Regions from separate parts of the Homo sapiens genome. Here region 2 is linked to region 1. The links are contacts of gene promoters, found by promoter capture Hi-C in human tissues and cell types (Jung and others, 2019). All regions are on one chromosome and are shown on one strand. The core of a region is centred on a gene start or on the middle of the fragment in contact, and the rest is flanking DNA. Distances in the headings are between cores, read along the strand shown. Region 1 holds the start of TAS2R16 (taste 2 receptor member 16). Region 2 overlaps LOC105375482 (a long non-coding RNA gene).

What was found. Contacts are between HindIII fragments. The study calls those that stand out against the background at their distance.
Region 2: a fragment that was not itself captured here is called in contact with the fragment with the promoter of TAS2R16 in region 1 in 3 of the 25 tissues and cell types used here (aorta, small bowel and stomach).

Annotation. Positions count from the first base shown.
Region 1 is chr7:122,993,469-122,997,896 of GRCh38, reverse strand. It overlaps TAS2R16 (taste 2 receptor member 16), which reads left to right and starts at 2,197. Exons shown (of 1, transcript NM_016945.3): 1 at 2,197-3,193. The coding sequence starts at 2,263. The coding sequence ends at 3,138. The HindIII fragment of the contact is 11,039 bases long and covers 1-3,806 here.
Region 2 is chr7:122,947,183-122,951,610 of GRCh38, reverse strand. The region is part of intron 2 of LOC105375482 (a long non-coding RNA gene); the gene reads right to left. Among named protein-coding and RNA genes, the nearest start is that of TAS2R16, 46 kb to the left of the region's middle. The HindIII fragment of the contact is 4,621 bases long and covers 1-4,112 here.

The DNA of each region.
Region 1 (4,428 bases), core at 948-3,447:
AACTAGGAGTATGCTCAGGAATGAGAAAAAGACAAAATCTCTAACAGTGAAGATAGTAGATGCTTATAAACATAAATTGGCATTCTTTTTCCCTGTGGGACATTAGGAAAAAAACTGGTGGGCCTTCCCTCATGTCTACCTGAGAAGGGGGAAAGAGAATTGGAGAGATGACAGAGTAGAGAGGCATGGGCCTCCTGCCATTTATCATTTTTACTGAAAAGAATGCCAGAGTTTGCCATAGATCAAATGTACACTGCAGAAGGTAGCTGAGCTTCAGTCACCTTGCCAGCACCTGACCAATGAGGACTAGTTAAGGGACAACAATCCCCTGTCTGATAAGGGAAAGGGTGTGAGCTAAAGGAGAGTGGAAGAAGGCAAACCAGAATTGGGATCACTGCAATGAGGAGACCCCAGAGGTGGCCCTGAAGGTTCACATGCACACATGATGAAAGAGCCAGACTCTCAACTCCTAACCCCAGGGAACATCAATCACCAGTCTATGGACACTCTGTATGTCTCACCTTCAAACTTTCCCAAAAAGAGTATCTGGGTTATTTAATCAGCCACTATCACATAGAAAACACTCCAGTGGAGTAGAGTAGTGCCAGGCCATCTCTCATGCAGCAGGCCAGTCTATGAGGGGCTGCTTTGGACAGAAACTCATTCCTGGTCATACTATTGTGGCTGGAATCCAGTCATGAGGGGTGTAGTATGGTGGCCACACTTTCACAACCCCTCAGACAGAGATTGAGAGCATCACAGTCCTTCCAAGTTTACTCAGAATGGGGCAGTGTATATAGCTGGCAACATGCTTAGTGTATTCAGGACATAAATTAGAGGTTAATGCTATTATTGCATGTTTCACATACCAACATTTCATATCTCATCTTTCTCCCTTCTTATGTCTGGATACATCTCAACCAATTCACCTTTTAATAATATATATTGTTTTGTCATCTCAGTTTTTTATTTCCTGTTTCTTGCATTTTATTGAGAATGCAAAGCAGATGCTTTCTTACACTTAATTCTGTTTTCTGGTGTAATTTTTCAAGCTATTGCTTACCTTTGCTTCATGAGTTCAGTAGTTTCTTGTTTTGTGTTCAAGAATTCTAAGATTCATGTTTGCTTGCTTCTGTGTTGTCTTCCTTGAATGACTAAAAAGTCCATACAGACTCCGAGTTTATCATACATAAGGTCAATGACTTTCACTTTGTCTCTGTCACCAACTAGCAATTAGAATAACCTCTCATTTCTGAAGCCACTTATTACATATTTGGTGTCTATTTGGAAGAGTTGTCCTGAACTGAAGGAAAACGTATTCCTTTTATAGCCTGCTTGTATAGCTATGAAATGATGCCTGCACATTTAGAAGTAATACGCTTTACTAGTGGTAAGAGGGTCCTCTTTCAATTCTTCCTGAGCAATGGGAGCAGTGACAAAAAGAACCTAGCCATGTAAGAGAAAAAAAAAAACACACAGTGATGTTAATGGGACAAGAACAATTCCTGAAAATATATAAGGCATATGCTCAAAGCATCGGAATTGGCAGAAGAACAATAGCTAAGAGAGGCTGTGTGCAGTGTTTTCTCTGCAGTTTGATTTCTCTAAGTGGGGGAATTCAATGGGCAGTTATGAGAGTGGCCTGCATTGGATGGAAATACTTGAAGGTCTGGGGTTCAGCAATTTTGTGGAATTTCGGAGGAAAGACTTTTCATTATCATTTTTATTTACCCTCACACTTTGGTTGTAGCATCCACCACTAGCTGCCATGAGAACTGGGAAGATAGGGCTTCTGAGGTTCGCTTTGGTACTGCACTCAACAGAGCAGAAACATCATGCAGGACGTGAATGAACAGGGAAGGATTCATCTTTCTTGTTGCTCAAATTTTAGGTTAAAAGAGTGAAGATGTCATTTAAAGAAGATAAGGAAATAAGCTAAGTGCACCTCAGAAAAAGAGGAAATAAACAACATGGTTATGAAATACATATGCCTTTTTGGAATAATCAAATCACCTCAGGAGCAGGAATCCACATTTAAACATTTCCCTACATTCAGATGTGATAGCAAACCAGCAAGCAAAGCATAAACAAATTCTATAGATAGGAAAATGACAAAATCAAAAATGAGCTTGGGAAAATTTGCTTCCAGAGAGAGGGGTTTTCTTGTACCAGACAGTGGTGGAATCAGGAACCCATTCTCTACCTGGAAATTGGTACAGAGATTCAGAGTCTTTGTCCAGGAAGACACTTTGGAGTAGAAGAATGATACCCATCCAACTCACTGTCTTCTTCATGATCATCTATGTGCTTGAGTCCTTGACAATTATTGTGCAGAGCAGCCTAATTGTTGCAGTGCTGGGCAGAGAATGGCTGCAAGTCAGAAGGCTGATGCCTGTGGACATGATTCTCATCAGCCTGGGCATCTCTCGCTTCTGTCTACAGTGGGCATCAATGCTGAACAATTTTTGCTCCTATTTTAATTTGAATTATGTACTTTGCAACTTAACAATCACCTGGGAATTTTTTAATATCCTTACATTCTGGTTAAACAGCTTGCTTACCGTGTTCTACTGCATCAAGGTCTCTTCTTTCACCCATCACATCTTTCTCTGGCTGAGGTGGAGAATTTTGAGGTTGTTTCCCTGGATATTACTGGGTTCTCTGATGATTACTTGTGTAACAATCATCCCTTCAGCTATTGGGAATTACATTCAAATTCAGTTACTCACCATGGAGCATCTACCAAGAAACAGCACTGTAACTGACAAACTTGAAAATTTTCATCAGTATCAGTTCCAGGCTCATACAGTTGCATTGGTTATTCCTTTCATCCTGTTCCTGGCCTCCACCATCTTTCTCATGGCATCACTGACCAAGCAGATACAACATCATAGCACTGGTCACTGCAATCCAAGCATGAAAGCGCGCTTCACTGCCCTGAGGTCCCTTGCCGTCTTATTTATTGTGTTTACCTCTTACTTTCTAACCATACTCATCACCATTATAGGTACTCTATTTGATAAGAGATGTTGGTTATGGGTCTGGGAAGCTTTTGTCTATGCTTTCATCTTAATGCATTCCACTTCACTGATGCTGAGCAGCCCTACGTTGAAAAGGATTCTAAAGGGAAAGTGCTAGGCCTAGAGGTTGCCTGAGGCACAGGATAAAAGACTCCCGAGCAATTGATATAATTAATACCAGAAGAGAGTATTGCTCTTATCAATCAATTCATTGTGAATCACCATAATGCAACCCTCATTCCCTTCCATCTTCGCAGCCATGTATTTGTAAATAATCAACCCTTTCTCTATCCTTTTCCACTGGTTTCCTTTCCCTTTCACAATCCTCAGGTTGGTTCCAACTTGCTCAAGACTGCCCCATCTCTCCTTAGTCCTTGCCAACTCTGGAATTGTACACCTGGTATATTCTACACAAGACAGTCAAAATCATGGTGTCCACACATTACTTTAACCTTCCCATGACTGCCAGTTACTTCACACATGAATATGAATACCATCCCACAGAAACATATTGCTTGTACCCTGAATGATTCCCATACTAAGCCTTCAATTCACTTTTTTAGTCAAGGAGTCTCTCTCTCTCTCTCTCTCCCTCACTCTCTCTCTCCCCCTCTCCATCTCTCTCTCTTTCTCTATCCCCTGGCTGTTTCTGGACTTTTATCTGATGACACAAATGTTCTTATTTGCTTCTCTTCCAAATGCCATGTCTTTATCTCTTTAAAACTCAAGTCAAAATTTAACTCTTTCTTCATTTCCATTAGCCAAAACATTATACTCTTCCCCAGAATAGCAGACACTTTACCCAATCCAGATTCATCCTTAATAATTCCCCAAATATTGACAATTTAATTGTGTCAACTATACAACTATAAATGGTTTCCATTGGCTCAATTCTTGCCTCTCTATTGTATTATAACTTGTATTGTATTATTAACTTGATGGAACATCTCCATGTTGAGACATAGTTGTTTTATTTCCCATATACAACCCAGATATCAGTTAAGAACCACTCTTAGCTCATAACATTTGAGTGGCGTTGGCTTACACTTTCTACACTTTTTTATTCTGTCCAAAGCCCTCCCAAAATGAATAAGAATATAGAAATCACACAGTAATCAGTGAAAAATCACGTATAAAACATACTCATTCTTTAGACGTTCTTTCTGCCTCCCTGTCTGACACGTTTCTCTCATACCTTCTTCCCTTGCAGGACCCCATGCCCTTATCTCCAAGGCATCTCACTCCTCATTTATCTCCTCTTCACCCTCAACTACCAGCAGCTATGTGTCTTGGTAATGTCCAACCACTATGCCTTTGGGTCTCAGCCTCTGTCCACCCCAGATACTTATTAAGGTATTCTTCTTAAAGCCAGTTGCATCTCTTACACCATTCTGGTACCAAGCGTAAA
Region 2 (4,428 bases), core at 553-3,052, 46 kb after region 1:
GTTAAGCATGAAAGATGCTGGGGTAAGTGAGGAACCAAGGCAGCACAGGGTGAGGTGCCAGAAATGCAGTGGTTGAGAGCATGGAACTTCTTCCTTTTCCCTTTTGTTGCCTGAGTTTGTAATCCTAACTCTTCCATTCGCTAACAGCAACTTTTGGGGCTTAACTTCTTGATGCTTCAGCTTCTTTATCTGCAAGTTGGGATAATGATAATACAGTAATATCAATTACCAACCATTTCACTTTCTGCAATTTCAGTTACCTGCTGTCAACCACAATCCAAAAATATTAAATGGAATATTCCAGAAACAAACAATTCATAAGTTTTAAATTGCATGCCATCCTTAGTAGTGTGATGAAATCTCATGCCCTCCTGCTCTGTCCCGCCTAGGACATGAATCATCCATTTGTGCAGTGGCAGCCTAGCCACACTGCACACTATTACCTGCCCATTACTCACTCAGTAGCTACCTGGGTTATCAGATCAACAGATCACAGGAAGAAGAAGAGTGCGTATAGTACAACCAGATATTTTGACAGAGAGTGAAAAAGATCACATTTACATAACTTTTATTATAGTATATTGTTATATTTGTTTATTAATTACCATTGTTATTGTCTCTTTATGCCTACTTTATAAATTAAACATTATCACAGGTATGTATGTATAGAAAAAAATATAGTGTATATAGAGTCCAGTACTATCTGCAGTCTCAGGCATTCACTGGTAGGCTTGGAACACATCCCCCATGGATAAAGGGGCACTACGGTATCTGTTTTACAGGATGACTGCAAAGAGTCAATGAGTAAACATAGGTAAGAGGCTTAAGGCAATCCCTGAAACATAGTAAGTTCCAAGTAGCTCTTAGCTCTTATTAACTACAGGAGGTTCATGCTACTCTAAGATAGAAGGGTTTAAATAATAAAACCTTCCCCATAGGTAAGCCAAATCCCTTCTTCTCTTTCAATTTAAACTCATATTATCTTATTCTGTCATTCATGGCAATAGGGAAAAGTCAGACACTCTTCTCTGCATGATGACCCTTCACACGCTGAAGGCTTTCATGTAATCGGAAACATTTGTGGATGTAGAGCTCTTCAGGGAAAAGTGTGTCCCAATCTAATTTCACAAAGTAATGTCAGGAAGGAAACAATCAATGAGGTTACTCCAAATCAAAGTACTTAGAGAAAGTCTTTTAACTCATCTTTAGTCCAGCAAAACGTGAAGAATCACTGATGTCCAAAAGACATGTAGGGAAGGATGTTTTACTTCTATACTTCTTACTATGTTTTGAGGCTAAAATCAAAGGTTTTGGAAAGTTCCAATGTACTAAATCAGAATAATTTAGAGTCAATTTCTACATTAAGATAACAGAGTATTTATATTGATTCTTGAGTTTTATAACACAAACAGTTTATTCTAATTTTGGTTTAACTTGAAGGCAGTGACATCACCTACATATATTTGGACTCTTACAAAACCTAGCAAGCATTTTACCTATCATAGGTATTCAGTAACATTATTGCTCAATGAGTTCATAGTAGTCAAATTAGAAATTTAGGAACTAACAATAATATCTAAATGTTTATTGGAAATTGCTGCAATTGGTGAACATCAGACAGTAATATAAGCATCCCATATATATATGTAAAACATATATATAACATATATATAACATGTATAACATACATATCATGTATATAACATATACGTTTCTTCAAACAGTGCAAACAAGTAGAAAATAAAATGTAACTTTCATCTTCGTTTATGTTATTTTAGGATAATTTTTAAAGGTAAAAATTTAACTTCTGTTAACTTCTTCTCCAGCTTAAGAGAATATGGTGAAGATTTTCCAAAACAGGACAAAAATCAGGACACATGGTATAATTTTAAAAACTATTTTCTGGTTTGGATGTATATTTTAAGTAGTGTTTTCTAAAATTGTTTTTTAAGCCACACTCAAAAAGCTGATTGTTAGCATTTAATATTAAATGCTAATTAATCCTTTTAAAAAAATAAAGTTATATGAAACTGCTTGCCCATAGTATGGTTATAACTCCTACACGACAAACTTTTTTTTTTTTTTTTAGCACTAATGACCACATTTACTTTAGAGAATTTCTGCTGCCCTGGAAATGTTAGAGTAGGGAAAGCCAAGAACCAAGTGGTGAGTGAAAAATCTGTTAGGTATGACCTAAAACACTGTCAGCTGTGAACTGCTGCTAGTCTCCCCTGGCATGGGAATGAAGAGGCCAGGAAGAAAAGTCAAGTCAAGTATCCATTCCCCTCCCCTCCCCAGCTGCTGAGTAAATACACTTCTAAAGTTGATTCTGGCACCCAAAATTTTTCCAGAACATATCATAGGCAAGATATTTTTCCCATCTTGTCTAGGTATGAACCTGTGCTCTTTGACTTATCTGAGTTACACTAAAACCAAATTATTTTTCAACTGTCTTTATATATATTTAGAAAGCATATTTTTCGTCTTAACTAATGTAGCATAGTTAAGATGAAAAATATGCTTTCTGAATTTTTGGGTATGGGGTATTCACTCCATTCAATTTTTGGGTATGGGATATTCACTCCACAAAAATTTAGGTAACTCTTTCTTTAATATAAAACATCCAGAGAACAAGAGGGAGAGGGAGGGAGGGAGAGAGATAGCTTAGTAAAATTTCAGAACACCAAACACAAAGTCTTAAAAACCAGCAGATATAATACAGCATGTCATCATGTCATCATATGACTATGCCATAATTTATTTAATAGATATCCTAATTTAAGATATTTAGTTCCTGATTTTCTACTATTGTGCAAAGTGATCTTATGATGGTTGTTGTAAATAAAGCTTTATGTATGTTTCTTATTATTTCTTGTAATAAATCATGTAAATTAGATTGCTGTGTCAAAATGTATGCATTTTCATACATTCATATAGGCCTTCATACATATAGCCAAATTGTCTTCTAGAAATCAATTTATACTTACTGTGTATGATCATTCTTATCTCTCAAAAAATTGCAAAACATATTTTAAATTGTTACATATTACTTCATTATTATATATCCAACATCAATCAATGTAACAAGCATTTATATTAGCAATTTCACAAACACTTATGTGGTCAACATTTGTACCAAATTCAGAACATATTTTGTACCATCTTTTAAGTGTATCTTCCCTTAAGTATATGACAATTAATATAGATCTATTTTAGTTTTTATTACTTTCCCTTGTCCTTCTCCTTCTCCTCTTTGTCCTTCTGAAGAATCTCCCCCAATAAATATTTTCCATATTTATTTTGTATATTTTGTGATATTTTTCTATATATGAAAAATGTTACCATCATATATGTTACTGTTTTTCCTTGATACTTTATTGTGGAGTTTGTTTTGAGGTTTATGTTGATTATCACTTGCTCCAACAGTTTATTATATTTATTTTTTATTTTTATTTTCTGCCAAACAGTCAAAGGCACCACAGGTAATGAATATTTGGGCTACAAATCCATCTTGGGACCACATGATGGCTATCAGTTTTCTGAGGTGATAGCCCCGCCCACTCAACCTAGAGCCAAGTTTTGTTACAATAAATTTTTCTCAGCAGTCCTATTTCTGAGTTTCCATCTTGGCTTCTTTTTGGTCTAAGCTCAACAATGCATTTAAAAATTACAAATAAGGGGGCTGTGCGCAGTTGCTCACACCTGTAATCCCAGCAATTTGGGAGGCCAAGGCAGGTGGATCACCTGAGGTCAGGAGTTCAAGACAAGCCTAGCCAACATGCTGAAACCTTGTGTCTACTAAAAATACAAAAATTAGCCAGGCATAATGCACACCTGTAATCTCAGCTACTGGGGAGGCTAAGGCATGAGAATCCAGGAGGCGGAGGTTGAAGTGAGCTGAGATCATGCCACTGCACTCTAGCCTGGGAGACAGAGCAAGACTCCGTCTCAAAAAATAAATAAATAAAATAAAATAATAAAAATACACAAATAAATATCACTAATATAAGTAGCAGTTTATCCAGAATTTTAACTGTTTTGGTGAACTGTCAATCAAGGTACTAGCCTCCCATATTGCCAAAAATAAAAGTCACATTTTATTTAATAATTCAATTTTGTTGCAACAATAATGACATGAAAATTATGCACAGTCTATTTGAAGTACAAAAAGTAGTATGATGTCAATTACGTAAAGTGTACAAACTATAGTAGAGAGTTGTAATATCACAGGTTTGGGAAATAAATGAAATTGTAACTCTGATACTCTTCGGTTTGTGACTTGTGGCTAGTGTGGGAGTCATGGTTGCTCAGACTTGCTTTCAAGGGAATTTGCTGTGAGGTAAGAAGTTGGCTGACAGCTGCCCTACCATTAGATCTATCCCAAAATTTACCATGACCACAGTTTCCCCAGGTGTGCCCCAGACAGTA